Linked DNA regions of Homo sapiens: regions 2 and 3 are each linked to region 1. The links are contacts of gene promoters, found by promoter capture Hi-C in blood cells and fetal thymus (Javierre and others, 2016). All regions are on one chromosome and are shown on one strand. The core of a region is centred on a gene start or on the middle of the fragment in contact, and the rest is flanking DNA. Distances in the headings are between cores, read along the strand shown.

Region 1 (5,167 bases), core at 860-3,359:
GTACTGAATATTCCCAAAGAAAGAATGATTGGATTTTTTCCCCTCATCCTCTGACTTCTTACCTTATTGATATTGCAGGGATCAGCCTTGACCATCTATTTTTAACTGAAGGATTTGCTATAGGGCATTGTCCCAGTCAGTGTGGGCCCTCAAACTTGGGAGTTCAAAAGAAATCAGACATCTAAAGTAAACAAGGTTTTGGGCTAGTGACCATTTTATTTAAAATGGAATTGGGGACTCACACAACATTGGTACCATCCTCCTTCAAACTGCCCCCATCAAAATGCAATATGTCCATGACACCAGAAAGGACAGGAAGGGGGGGTGGGGTGGTGAAGCCAGTGCTTAGATTTTTTTTGTCTAGTTTGCCCTCCAAGTTGTCTTCAATTTAGTAATCATACATTGCAGATTTCATAAAACAATCTAAGTTTCAACTATTTTTGCTCCATTGTTTTCACGAATAAACTTGTAGGATAAAATGCCCCTATTTTTGGTTTGGAAATGTAGTCAAAATAACCATTTTTTATACTACCAATAGTCAGTCCCAGATGATGGGACGGGAGTGGGCCTCAGAGAGCATATGTCCATGCCCTCCAAGCATCATTCCTCATTAAGCCACATTAGAATTTAATCCAAGAGCCTCCTGGTGAGCAAAACCATCATATCCCCATTTAACAGATGAAGGCACTAAAGTCTAAAAATGTTAGCTGACATTGATTGAACTTCCGCTACTCAAAAGTATATGTAATTATAAGTGAAACGTGGTGAGAAAGGCTATTACTTTGACAAATGGCACCAGAATTCTTTGGAGTGTTAAGGCTCCTTTCAAAGAGGGAGACCACCCTGCTGAAGGTTTGTTTGTGTTTCTTTTTTATTGTTTTGATCTTTTTAGAAAGCTCTTTCCTTTTATGTTTAGTTGACACATAATAATTGTACGTATTTGTGATACACAGTGATATTTCAATACATGTATACAATGTGTAATGATCAAATCAGGATAATTAGCATATTCAGCATCTCAAACATTTATCATTTCTTTCTGTTGGGAACAATCAAAATCCTCTCCTCTAGCTTTTTGAGACTATACAATAAAATAGTTAACGGCCAGGCATGGTCGCTCATGCTTGTAATCCCAGCATTTGGGGAGGCCAAGGCGGGCAGATCGCCTGAGGTCAGGAGTCTGAGGCCAGCCTGGCCAACATGGTGAAACCCCGTCTCTACTAAAAATAGAAAAAAAAAAATTAGCTGGGCGTGGTTGTGGGTGTCTGTTATCCCAGCTACTCAGGAGGCTGAGGCAGGAGAATAACTTGAACCTGAGAGGCAGAGGTTGCAGTGAGCTAAGATCGTGACATTGCACTCCAGCCTGGGTGGCAGAGCGAGACTCTGTCTCACACACACACAAAAATATAAAAATTAAAATAATTAATTAATTAATGTTAACCATATTCACCCTACAGCACTGCAGACCACCAGAACCCATTCCCCCTATCTAGCTGTGCTTTTGTATCTATTAGCAACATGCTCCCCATCCTTCCTTCCGCCACTACACTTCCCAGCCTCTAATATCCACAATTCTGCTGAAGGCTTTGAGAGACAAGAGCAAACCACCAATAAAAAATGAAATATGGTCCTTTGGAAAGGACCAACCACTCTTGGTGTGACTCAGGGCAGAGGGATTCACACAACTGACCACTTACTGTCCCTACATCATTAAGATTCTCCCAGCTGATGATAAGGCCTTGGGAAAATGCCCCTAGGCTCATGCGCTCTGGAGAGACGCCAAAGGTTTACTGATGTACAGGCCCAGTCTGCTGCTAAAAGAAACTTTGGGAGGCACAGAAGCCCCAGCTAAGCTTTCACACATCAGCTTTCCCCATCCTCCTCCCCTCAGTGCCCAACACAGCTCTCCCATTCTCTCACTCCCATTGTTTCCCAAACATCCCTCCCTTCATAAAAGCTGTCTGGCTGGGAGCTTAAAATATTGCTGGACAGTAAAACCTACCCATCAGGGCCAATCCAGTCATATCTGCTCAGTCGTGCAGCACAGTAGGGGCGGGGTAGAGAAGTGGGAGGTGGGCTTTTAGGCAGCAAAGGAAAGAGACGAAAGTTGCCATTTTGCTGCTGAGCGCCAAGAGAGAAAGAGCACATATTTCTCCGTGGGACACTCCTTGTATTGGCAAGTTTTCCTTGGGTGATATTAGTTTGTAACCTTCCCCCCAATTGTTCTTTCTCAGCCTAATCTAAGGGCCATATATAGGCTTCTCCAAAAGGAAAAAGGTTGCCAATAAGATTCAGTCTTGGGCTGGGATGGCTAGACTTACACTCCAACTCTGAAAACCCTCTTCAAGTTGACCTAAGAACTGGCAGAGGTTTGGAAGGGAGAGGAATGCTGGAATAATCAGCAGGATGGGGAAACAGAGATGTCCAAACTCAAACTACAATTTGACTTCTTAAGCTCTTTTCATGTCTACAGGAATCCACAGGGACCTAAACCAAGTATTTGATATTTATGAAAAAGTTTTGTGCCCTTTTCACTCAAATTCTACAATAGAAATAATAGTCATAATTACTGAATGCTGTGGGGGTAGCGGAGGCTTCGTGCTCAGCATTTTCCATGTTGGAGCATTTAATGGAGCACAGGAAGGGATCTGGCTAAGGACCATAAAATTCCTCCTAGGAGCAGGTTCTGTTGTCTATCTATGAGAACTGCTGGCTAGTGGCTGTTCTAGAAACTAGAAAAGAGGCACTTTCCACCTGGTTACCAACCAGAGTGGTAAGTGGCCATTGAACGCTTTGGATAACTTATTAATGGATGTATATGTGTTATTCTGCCTCTTCAAAACCAGAGGAGGGCTATGCTGTAATGGGCTTAGATCTAGAAGACCAGGGCTCACAGCCTAGCTCTGCCCTCACTAGCTAAGCCCCCATCTTGGAGACTCATTTCACCTCCCAGCCTGTCTTTTTGTCTGGTAATGGGGATTGATAATGCCAAGTTCACTGGTTCTCAGACATCCATCTGGGGATCTGTCAGTTCTAGCTCAAGATGAAGGTTTCCACAACCTGTGACCAAAATGTGACAATGATAAAGTTAACAATGTAGTAAATGTTTCACCAAGTTAAGTGTGTTCAATTTAAAGGCTTGTCTTTTATTCTGAAGTTATGTCCTCTCCAGTTTTGTGGTGTTAAAATCCCCTTTTATGAAATGATGATGAAAATAGACTGTAGTTGTAGTTAGTAATTTAATAACTCTTTTTTTTTTTTTTTGAGACAGAGTCTCGCTGTGTTGCCCAGGCTGGAGTGCAGTGGTGTGATCTCAGCTCACTGCAGCCTCCACCTCCTGGGCTCAAGCAATTCTCCTGCCCCAGCCTCCCAAGTAGCTGGGATTACAGGTGCCCCACCACCGTGCCCAGCTAATTTTTGTATTTTTAGTAGAGATAGGGTTTCACCCTGTTGGCCAGGCTGATCTTGAACTCCTGACCTCAAGTGATCCTCCCACCTCGGCCTCCCATAGTGCTGGGATTACAGGCATGAGTCACCACGCCCAGCCAATAACTCTTATTTTTATGTCCTTGTTTGGCAAAATAAGGAGTTGGTATCCTTATGTTGGTCACACTAGTTTGTTATTATTATACTAGTCTGTGAAATCTAAGTCTGAGAACCACTGGCCTAGTTCACAGCTTGTTATGAGGACTGAAATAAGATACGTGAAAATGTATCACTTAGATCAAGGATACCCAAACATAAGGTGTTATTTTAATCATTACCTCTAGCCATCATTTTCTGGTGGGATGTTCCTGGCCATATATGGACACCCTGGGGTTGGAGGCTTGAACTCTATCCATTTATTTTCCATCTGTAATAGGTCTGTTCACTAAATTTTCACAAGCAAAATAAAACAGAGAATTATCTCTGAGAAAGAGAAGAGAAATAGTCTTCCTTTGGTTCAGATTTCTCCCTGCTCCCACAGAACGCTTTGCTTCTCTGATCTGACTTCCTTTAAATTTTCACTGTTAGAAGTCAGGAAACCAATACATTTCCCTTCGCAGCTCTAAAGTGTCTCTCCTTAACAGCACAGTAGGCCTGTTTCAACATCATGGGGTTGGAAAGATTGTGTCCTAAATTACAGTTTCTCTCCTTCAGTTATCACAAGAAACTGTAACTAGACATTTAAAAAAAAATACAATCTTAGCATGGCGGCTTAGAGTATAGAAAGACATGGGCTTGTTTGGCTTTGGTTTCAAAATTACTAATGAGTGGTCAGGAACGACTTCTTGTGTCATGAACATGTATCATGACACTCTTGTCAAGAATTGTTGGCCTTCCAGTTTATATATTTGATCTCATACAAAATAAGCAGTTTTGTGTCTCAGAGCAGCTGGTTGGGGATCAATTTACTATCCTTTTTGTTATTTACCATTTTTTACAAGTTCTTAATTTTTCTGCTGTTAGCTGTAGCAAGAGGACTGAAGTTCCTTGGTCTCTAGTATTCATATTACAGGAATTTGGGGATTGAGAATTTCAGATTTCACAAGGATTACTATTAGAACCATGCACTGCTGTCTATGGAGCTCCCACTCTGTGAAGGGCTTTGTTCTGTGTTGTGATGGTTCACAAAAGATGAGGCCAAAATGGTTCCTGCCCTCCAAAACCTTTTGATACTAAAGGGGGGAAAACAAGATTGGTTAACATACAGGACTGAGAGCATGTGCTCATCACACACATTCATGTGGGTATGTGAGTGAAATACACTGTCAAAAATGAACTGATATATCAATGAGGGTAAGTATTAGCAAGATAGTTAAGATTCAGTAAGATATTAGTAAGATAGTAAGATATTAGCTAAATCTTATAGAAGTACAGTTATTCAAATTGCTGTTTTAACATAAATTTTAGAATGAACTATTTGATAAGAAATGAACTTTTTCCTGGCTCTGCCACCAGTGAGCTTTATGCTTGGGCTGCTTACCTGATTGTGATGTTTCCCACCTATTTTCCAAAAGGCAATGGGAATGGCTACCACTCTTACCAGGGCAATTACTAGACTTAACTATAGTCTGAAGAGTTAAAAATAGATACATGTGGCTGGGATTGAGTTGCTGGTTCCGATTCCGAGCTGCTGGGTCCTTCCCCCTCTCCATTACCCATTTCTCCAAGGAACTCTTCCCAA
Region 2 (5,167 bases), core at 1,329-3,828, 210 kb before region 1:
AAAAGTGTATTGTGCTGGTATAAAAACAGACACATAGACCAATGAAATGGAATAGAGAGCTCAAAAATAAATCCATGCATTTATAGTCAATTGATTTTTGACAAAGTTGCCAAGAACACAAAATGGAGAAAGAATATCTTCTTCAATAAATGGTGCTAGGGAAACTGGATATCCACATGCAGAAGAATAAAATTAGACCCTCATCTCACACCATATATTTATACAAAATTAACTCAAAATGAATTAAAATCTTAAATGTAAAACTTGAGACTGTAAAATCAGCAGACCAAAATCTCCATGACATTGGTCTGGGCAAAGATTATTTTGATATGACCCCAAAAGCAAAAGCAACAAAAGTGAAAGTAGACAGATGAAATTACATCAAACTAAAAAACTTCTACATAGCAAAGGAAACAATCAACAGAGTGAAGAGACAACATATAGAATGACAGAATATATTTGCAAGCCATACATCCAATAAGAGGTACAAAATATAAAATATAAAAGCAACAAATACAAAGCAAAAAAAATACAAAAAAATACAAAATATAAAAGCAACTCAAACAACTCAATAGTAAGAAAACAAATAACCCAAATAAAAAATGGGCAAGGGACCTGAATAGACATTTTTCAAAGGAAGACATATAGATATCCAATAGTATATGAAAAAATGCTCAATAACACCAATCAGGCTGGGCGTTGTGGCTCACGCCTGTAATCCCAACACTTTGGGAGTCTGAGGTGGGTGGATCACAAGTCAGGAGCTTGAGAACAGTGTGGCCAATACGGTGAAACCCCGTCTCTACTAAAAATACAAAAATTAGCTGGGTGTGGTGGCGGGCACCTGTAGTCCCAGCTACTCGGGAGACTGAAGCAGAAGAATCCCTTGAACCCAGGAGGCAGAGGTTGCAGTGAGCCAAGATCACACCACTGCACTCCAGCCTGGGTGACAGACCGAGACCTCGTCTCAAAACAAAAAACAAAAAACAAAAAACAAAAACCACTAATCACCAGGGAAACGCAAATCAAAACCACAATGAGATATATCACACTTGTTAGAATGACTACTATCAAAAAAGATGAAAGATAAGTGTTGAGGATGTGAAGAAAAGGAAACCCTTGTACACTGTTGGTGGGCATGTAAATTGGTACAGCCATTACAGAAAGCAGTATGAAGCTTCCTCAAAAAATTAAAAATTGGACTACAGTACCATATGATCCTGCAATCCCACTCCTGGGTCTATATCCAAAAGAAATAAAATCTGTATGTTGAAGGGACACCTACAATCCCATGTTCACTGTAGCATTATTCACAATGTTCAAGATATGGAACAACCTAAGTGTCCATCAAAGGATGACTGGATAAAGAAAATGTGTTATATGTACATAATGGAATACTAATCAGCCTTAGAAAATAAAAAAAATCCTCTCATTTATGACAACATGGATGAACTTGGAGGACATTTTGTTAAGTGAAATAAGTCAGGCACAGAATGACAAATACCACATAATCTCGTATGTGGAGTATTTAAAAACTCAAACTTAGCCAGTGGTTAAGTGGCACATGCCTGTAGTCCATCTACTCCAGGGGCTGAGGCAGGATGATTGCTTAAGTCCAGGAGTTCTGGGCTGTAGTGTGCTATGCCAATAGGGTGTCTGCACTAAGTTCAGCATCAGTAGTAGGTGACCTTTTTGAGAGCAGGGGACCGCTAGGTTTTCTAAGGAGGGGTGAACCAGCCCAGGTCAGAAATGGAGCAGGTCAAATATCCCATGCTTATCAGTGGTAGGATAAGCACTCCAGCCTGGGCAACATAGTGAGACCCCATCTCTTTAAAAAAAAAAAACAAAAACCTCAAACTTAACAGAAATAAGGAATAAAGTGGTACTTACCAGAGGCTGAGGGATGGGAGGATTGGGGAGATATTAGTCAAATGACACAAAATTTCAGGTAGACAGGAGGAGTAAGTTCAGAAGATATATTGTTCACTTTGTTGACTATAGTTAATGACAATATATTATATATTTGAAAATTGCTGAGAGTAGATTTTAAATATTCTCACCATAAAAAAAGTATCTTAGATTATAGATATTTAGATGATGGTTAATTAGCTTGATTTATCCATTTCACAATGTATACACATATTAAAACATCATGTTGTTGTATACCACAAATACATACAATTTTTACTGGTCAATTAAAGTAAAGAAATAAATAATTACAAGTATTGAATACTTAGTTTTACTGATCTCAAGTACTGAAAATATGTCAATACAAAACATACTGAAATACCAAAATACACTGAAATTATACTCCAGTATTTAAATGACCCTTCAGTTTGGTACTGGAGGCCCTTTAAATCAGCTTCCCGTCTACATTTTCCACTATTTCCATCCCAGAGATAGATGTTTTTCTCTATGTGTCCTTTTCCAAATAGACCTTGGATCTGGCTACCTCGATTCCTTTTATCAAGACCCATTTTCCTATTTCTATCTGTAATGTTTATATGAAACAAACACAACTGGTAGAATGGAATCTTAAAGCAAATTCATTTTTGACTGTCTCTTTACATCTCCACTGAGGGGCTGTTCTCCTTGACCCTAGGAAAAAACAGAGGTTGCCCCTCAGAGATATTAAAGGTACTCAGCCATTTTTAAAGTCACAAAACATGGTGGAAATCAGGAATTAAAATGGCAGTCATAGGTAAGAATGATAATTCTTAACCTTGAAGTTTCTCCTCCTCTCCTCCAGTTTGTACTGGCCACAGGCTAGAAGTCTGAAATTTGAAAGTGGGTTAGGGGATAATCTCATGATTCTTCTCCTTTTACCATCTTTCTAAAGCTGATTCTGACCACTCTAGGATCTGGAGCTTAGGAAGGGAGATCAATGAAGGAGTACTAGCAAAGTTCTTAGTTGACTGGTGCTGTGCAGGTGATCAAGTTGGTGCTCTCTGGCCTTTGCAGATGTTTAAAGCTGATTGCTCTTTTAAGGGATTTTCATGGGTTGCTCTGAGACTCTTCCTTTTCCCCACCTTTCTGCAGCCTTAGGTATCCAGCAGCAGTTCATCTCCAGCTTTCCTGTATTGAGGCTCCTCACTCCTGCAGGAGGTCATTATAAACACGGGCTAAGCAACACCACACAACTCCCTTTCCCTCATGGGCCACATCTGGTCCATAGGAAACATGTTTGTCCAGGAAAACTCTGGGAATGCAGCCCCTTCCCCATAACTCAGCACTCTGGATTTAGATTTCTCAAGCATGAACCAGTCAGAAGTCCCCTGTGTCCCTCAAACTTTAGAAGACACATATTAAGCTCCACGGATGGTTCCATAAAAGTTCTGTCCTTTGGTTTGATTTAAGGAGCAGATATCCCTCCTTCCCACCCCCACCCTCTTTCTCCCCCTTTCTCCTCTCCTCTCCTGTCCTTTCCTCTCTTCTTCTCTCCCCTTTTTCCCCCATAATGAGAAGGATAGAATTCTTGGAACCCAATACTTCCCTCCAAAGAAATCCTTTTCAAAAGTCTTCCTGATCTCCAATTCAGCATCCCTTTACGCCATCAGTGTGGGTAATCATTTAAGAGTTACCAACCCAGGGCTAGGCACGGTGGCTCACGCCTGTAATCCCAGCACTTTGGGGGGTCGAGGCTGGCAGATCATGGGGTCAAGAGATCGAGACCATCCTGGCCAACATGGTGAAACCCCGTCTCTACTGAAAATACAAAAATTAGCCAGGTGTGGTGGCACGCGCCTGTAGTCTCAGCTACTTGGAAGCTGAGGCAGGAGAATCGCTTGAACCCAGGAGAAGGAGGTTGCATGGAGCTGAGACCACGCCACTACACTCCAGTCTGATGACAGAGAGAGACTCCATCTCAAAGAAAAAAATAATAAAAAAAGAGTTACCAACCCTTCCACCCCTTTTTACCACCTACTTTGAAAGTGTTTGCATTTTGGTCCAACACATAGCTCTAGAATGTGCCTTAGCTGAAGCTTTCCTTTTAACATCTTGTTACATCCCTAAAGCTCACTTTTATACAACTATCTTTTAAAAAAATCTTCCCCATCACACTCAGGTAGTAATTTTTACTTCTTTGAACTATTAGGTGTCGATCATTATGCCGTTTACATAGCACTTATTTTCTTCCTTGCTTTGTAGGTATTTAAGTCTACTTATTTTTGTCAAAAATATATAAGTTCCTCAAAGGTAGAGACTATGCCTCTTTCATTTTTATATCACAAAAAACTTACACACAGTTTATATGTACTATTTATTATATTTATAAATGGATTGCTCAGTATTACTGCAGATTGTAAAAGTCTTGGAAAATATCTTCAATTCAACATATATTTATTGAATATGTGCTGAATTTCAAGCACTGTGCCCAGTTGAGGATACGGACATGGACAAGACATAATCCTGCTTCTGAAGAGCTTACTATTATCAGAGGAGGCTGGCATACATGAAAAATTGCATTAGTCCACAATAACAGTGTGCTCTAAAGGTTGTGCACAGGAGGGACTGGTTAGTTCTAACCATGAGGCTCAGGGACATCTTCATGAAGTTGGATCTGTCTGAATTGTTTTGTATGTTAAATGAGCTAAAGTTCATGTACCATAAAATTCACCCTTTTGAAGACTACAATTCACTGATTTTTAGTATGTTCACAAAATTGCACAATCATCACCACTATCTAATTCCAGAACTCATTTGTTACCCCAAGCCCATTTGCACTCACTCTTCATTCTTCCCTCCCCTGAACCCCTAGCAACCAGTAAGCTACTTTCTGTCGCTATGGATTCCCTAATTCTAGGCATTTCATATAAATGGAATCATCCGATATATGCATTTTGTGTCTGACTTCTTTCATTTAGCATAATGTTTTTAAGCTTTATTTGTGTTGTAGCATGAATCAGTGCTTCATTTTTATGACAGAGTAATATTCCACAGTATAATATATATTTTATTTATCCATTTATCTGTTGATAGACGTTGTGAATAATGTGCTATGTGAATAATGCTATTCACGTAACACACTATTCTATGCTATTCACATAGCATTCACATAGCATTATATAATGCTATGTGAATAAAGGCTATTATGAACAATGCTGCTATGAACATCTGTGTACAAGTCTTTTAGGAACATGTTTTCAGTTCTCTTGGGTACATACCT
Region 3 (5,167 bases), core at 1,785-4,284, 150 kb before region 1:
TCTATCTTCATCTACACATCCTTCTCTCTGGCCTGCTAAGATAGAAGGAGCACAGAGAATCTCATTAAAGCTGCACCTGTGATGGGACAGAACATCAAACTAGAAGGAAACATGGGATTGTAACTGATTCTATCACTAACTAGCTCTGAGGCCTTGGGAAAACCACTTTGTTGTCTCAGCTTCTAAAATGGGAATAATGATAACAGCTGTTTATTATGGCAAATTGTAGTCCATTTCATTCATGCAGCAAGTATTTCAGAGACAGCCTGCCTTGTGGAATGAACTGGGTTCTGGTCTCACCTCTGTCACCAACTCTAACTCACTGGGTGACTTTGGGCAACTCAAACAAGATGGAAATTCTAGGAGCAAAGATTTCAGCTAAAAGAAAACTAAAACATTTCTAACAGAGCTACCTAATGATAGGCTGGGCTGTATTGGGAAATGGCATAAGCATATCTAATATTTATTCAGCAATCACTTTATTAAGCTATTATACTAAGTGCTTTACATGCCTTGCTTCATTTAATCTTCACAGTAATCCTATGTGTTAGATGCTTTTACAGATGAGGAAACAAGCTCAAAGAGGTTAAGTAGCAAGGCTAAGATCTGACCCAAAGATCCATGAAACCAGGCCGAGTCCACTTAACCACTCTGCTGCTTTGCCAGTGGAAATGCTCAGAAGAAGGTGGAAGACCATTGGCAGGCAGTGGAGAGATCATAGCAGCAATTAGGTTAGGCTAGATGACTGCTCAGCCCTGAGGTTCTAGGACTCTTGCTCCTTCCAGGCTCAGTTTCCTGGAAAATAAGAGTTAAATGTGATTGCTAGGGGCTCCTCACCATTATAAAATCCTGTGACTCATGTGCTAGGGACAGAGGGCAACAGAAAAGTAACGTCAGATGTACTCTCTGATGTCCCAGAGTATAGTTGGGAGGGCGAGTCATATCTCACAACCTCCATGACCCAGTGCTCTGTTGTATGGGAAGGGAAAGTCAGTGGGGTGGATGGAAAGTGTTGGAAGGAATGAGCATGGGGGCTTAGAATGGCAGGGTCTAAGTAGGTGCCAGGGAAAGGAAGCAGAAAGTGCATGTTTGAAAAGCCAGAGGTGTTTCCCTTTGAAAGCTTAGCTGCTACACAGAGCAGCTCTATCCATGCCTTGACAGCTCCCAGACCCAGCTGTCAGAGGGCACCTTTCACTCTCTTTAACCAGCTGAAGTGCCCTGGCTGTCCTGAACTCAACACCTCCACACTCTCAGCTCTCCTGCCTGAGCCCGACATGGGAGGCAGAGCAAAAGGCCACCATCATTTTAGCTGCCCCCTCCCACTCCCACAGAACCCACTGGGTTAAAGGCTGCTATACATATTAAAATAGGGACCCCAACATGTGTGAGTATGTGTGTAGTAATTTTTTATTTTCCTAAAATCTTGAGACTATTTTAGGGGGCAGGGAAGAAGACAGACAAGTTAGTGACAGGGAAGTCCTTGATTAACTGTTTCTTTCCACATTTTAATTTCCTTTCTGATAGAAAATTCAAATAAAACTGGGGGGCTGTCACAGTTTGTCAGTGGTGGTGGGGGATGGGAGGCAGGATGTCTTGGAAACATAGGAGGACATAGGGACATGATAGTAGCAACAAGCTTGGATATTTCCCAAGCAGGGCCTTCAGAGCCACTGTCTGGAGAGGAGAGCTCTTTGGATAAACCGTTGTGTCTGTTGGAAAGTGGTCATGCTTTCATGCTCAGTGTAAGTTTCCATTGGTGCTGTATTTCACCATGCACAGGCAGCACAAGGAGAGGAAGAAAATGCCCTTTTGGAAACTAGTTTGTAGATAAAGTGAATCAGCAAAAGACAAGGTAGAATCCAGAAAAATAAGAAAGAACAACTTCAGTTCAACATGGCAGATGTTTTCCAGCATCTCTTGCCTGCCTAACGTTGTCCTAAATGTTGCAAGGCACAAGGTCTGGAGGGAAAGGTCTATCCAGGTAGACAAGACTCACACACAGGAAACCACAGGAATTTTTAAAAATCCCTATAAATGCTGGCAAGAATACTATCAAATGTCAGAATGTTTTTCCCTACACACATATACTTGTTCTAGCAGTGAAGGATACCTACTAACTTTGATGCTCCAGGCTTGGTCTGAATGTCATACTATTGTAGAATGAGGAAAGCTACATTTCAAACCGGAATCATTGGCTCAGTCTGGATTCTCCAGGAAGCAGGCCTGAGGCAAAGGCTGATGTGCTAACACATCAATAGAGTGTATAGTCTTAGGGGCAACAATAGGGAATGAGGTGAGAAAGACAGGTAAGGAGACAGACTCAATAGGAAGATGTGTCATCAAGCAGGACACTGCTAAGTGTCACTGGCTGCTCAATCCACAGGACCACACCCTTGAGTAGCCCTATCATCCAGATCTCAGAACCACCAGGGGAGTGGGACAGGGGTGGAGACAAACCCACTGAACAGAGGTTTGCCATGTGTTGCATTAGGCCCACACTTTAAGGTTGCCCATGTGTTGGGGAAAGTACTGAGCAGGGTTCTACCACTGCTTCCTTAGGGAAATCCTAGGGGAAGTCAGATGCAGTCAGCTGCACCCATGTGAAATTGATCCATATGGTTTCCAGACAGCTGGAAGAAGAGGCAGGTGAGGCGGAGAGGATCTGTAGTAAAGCAGAGAAGGGTCTAACACACCCATGATCCCTCTACTGCATAATAATTGTCTGACCGCAGTTTTCCTCTCTGAATCCCCAGGTCCTGGTGCTGCATGAGGCATACAGCAGGCCTGAATCTTACGTTTGTTAAATAAGTGAATGGAATAAATTTTGTTGAATGACTAAGACCTAAAGCCTCTTAGTCATTCCTGACTTCTTCCTACCACCATCCCCCACCCCATACCTGACCAGTCACCAAGTCCTACTGCCTGTGTTCCTAGCTCATGCTGACCCCTCTCCCAGCCCCACCAGTCTTCCCTGTCTCACCTGCTGCAACTCTGAAGTGTAACTCTGAAGTGTAGCCCTGATCATCCCACTCCCAACACACAAAGAAACTCAACAGGTCGTTACCACTTACAGAGTGAAAGTGTCCAGCATCCCCCACTGCGCATCCCACCTCTTGGCCTCACTCCCTCAGGGCTCCTCCCAGCTCCTGGAACACATCAGTTCCTTATCGGTTCTGTTGCTGGTGTTTGTTTGTTTGTTTTAATTTGTGTCATTTTCTCCCACCGGGAAGTCTTCTCCTCTGACATAGAAAATCTTATTCCTCTTTCAAAGGCAATTTCAAGTGCCACCAACTCTATGAAGCCCTTCCTGAGCTCTTCCTCCTCCCCAGGTTCTCCCGTTCCTCTGAAGACCTTCAGTGACATTTTTTCCTCTTACCACACTGAGCACTGCTCCCTGGTAATATGGCATTGTTCCCCTCCTCTACAAGGTCCCGAGTGGTTGAGGGCAGGATTCTCTCTTACAGATATCCTCCCAAACGGTGCCTGCCCGTGGCCCTGACATGGTGTGCAGTGGGCGGTCACCACACTGGGATGTGTAAGAAGGGTTCATGGGGGAAGCCTTGCCTCCCAATTCACTCTAGTGCTCTGCCATTCCCAGAGGCCACAGCTGGTGGGCCATCCGCTGTCACACAGTTGACTGCCAGAACCCTGGGGTGGGCACCTCCTGCTAACCATATCCCATTTAAGGGTGACAGTCTGAGCCCAAACAAAAAAATTTTCCCAGGCATGAGGATTGCAGAAACTGAAAGGCAGCTCCTGGCAGCCACCCCAGGGGAACACCAAATTTAGCCCAAAAGTTGAATATAAATATATTTTAAGTGTGTTAATTTCAAAAATAGCATCATTACATTAAAATAGTTTACAAAATTAAGAGAATTAAAGCACCCCCACCAATCCACCAAATTGCTTTCATTTTTGTTTGTTGCCCTCAAGTCTTTGCTCTTATAAATGCCTTTTTTTTTGAGATAGGGGTCTTGCTATGTTGTCCAGGCTGCCCTGGGACTCCTGGGCTCAAGTGATCCTCCCACCTCAGCTTCCCAAATAACTGGGACTATAGATGCGCAGTACCACGCCAAGCATAAATGCCTATTTTTGCACATCGTAATCATGCTACACATACAATTTTGTGTCTTGCCTTTTTACTTAAGAATATGTGATGAGCACTTAAGAGAAGTATAAGGCAGGTTTAAATCCCAATCCTACTGCCTAGTAGCTGTGCAAGTTACTGAATCTAAGTCTGTTTCCTTATCTGTAAAATGGGGTCAAATAACCTTGAAGGATTACTGTAAGGATGAAATAGCAATTCATAAAATCTCTTAGCACAATGCCTAGAAAACAGCAAGCACTTAATAATTGAAGGTGTATTTCATTATTACTATTAAAATATGTGAGGGTTTTTAAATTGACTTTTCCCCAGCCAACTACACCCTGCACAAGCTTTTACAATGGTTTCAAATGTGGAATTTTACCTCAAACCTTTGTAAATGTAATCCCCTCCAGGTTATATTTTATCACATTTAAAGACAAGTCCCAAGAAGGTATAAAATAACTTTCTATCCTGCCCCGTTAGCTGAACAGCAGCTGCTGCTGGAGGGGATTTAGCCTTGGCCAGGCTGCAGAGCCCAGGGCGATGAACACTCCTGAAAGGTTCCTGCTTAGTTCTCACTTTCTCTGAGAAACCCTTTGTTAGCAAGTACATGCACGCAGTCCCATAAGGGCCTTGAATCAGGGTAATGGAAAATTCTGTCAGGTTGAAGGGACTGAGGGGGCTTGAGTCTTGCTGCCAAGCGATGGCCTCCCCCGGGGCTGTGCTGCCCTTAGCTGAAGGTGGAGATAGATAAAGAAAAGCATTAGCCTCCAACCCCCAAATCATCTCCCCACCCGCCGGCTTGATGAGGTGCTTAGAAGTCTCATGGTTGTCATTCCTTTGGTTTAAGGCTTTGAAGGTACTGTATCTATAAACATCATATATATTGCCATGAAGAGCTTGACTCAGTTTATTCATCTGCAGCTCTGTAATTCTGATAATGGGCCCCACAAGAGTACAAGAGCCTGCTTGTACTCTATCCAAGACTCTGTCCTAGTGCCTTGCTTAGTAACCCAGCTACTAGGGTGAAGTTCCGCTCTGCCCATGTCAGACTCCCTTCCCTGAGTCTGGAAGTCCAGC

What was found. The method cuts DNA at HindIII sites, captures the fragments that hold promoters and counts their contacts. A CHiCAGO score of 5 or more calls a contact.
Region 2: a fragment that was not itself captured here is called in contact with the fragment with the promoter of GJA8 in region 1 in 9 of 17 cell types (endothelial precursors, erythroblasts, naive CD4 T cells and 6 more); the score reaches 7.4 in endothelial precursors.
Region 3: a contact is called between a fragment that was not itself captured here and the fragment with the promoter of GJA8 in region 1, in 1 of 17 cell types (naive CD4 T cells). The highest score is 5.4, in naive CD4 T cells.

What each region holds. Positions count from the first base shown.
Region 1 is chr1:147,900,686-147,905,852 of GRCh38, forward strand. GJA8 (gap junction protein alpha 8) reads left to right here and starts at 2,110. Exons shown (of 2, transcript NM_005267.5): 1 at 2,110-2,176. The HindIII fragment of the contact is 6,753 bases long and covers 1,852-5,167 here.
Region 2 is chr1:147,687,708-147,692,874 of GRCh38, forward strand. It overlaps the pseudogene RN7SL261P. Among named protein-coding and RNA genes, the nearest start is that of ACP6, 20 kb to the left of the region's middle. The HindIII fragment of the contact is 2,806 bases long and covers 1,176-3,981 here.
Region 3 is chr1:147,747,968-147,753,134 of GRCh38, forward strand. All of the region lies in intron 1 of LOC102723321 (a long non-coding RNA gene), which reads left to right. Among named protein-coding and RNA genes, the nearest start is that of GJA5, 10 kb to the right of the region's middle. RefSeq lists an enhancer at 611-5,167. The HindIII fragment of the contact is 2,801 bases long and covers 1,635-4,435 here.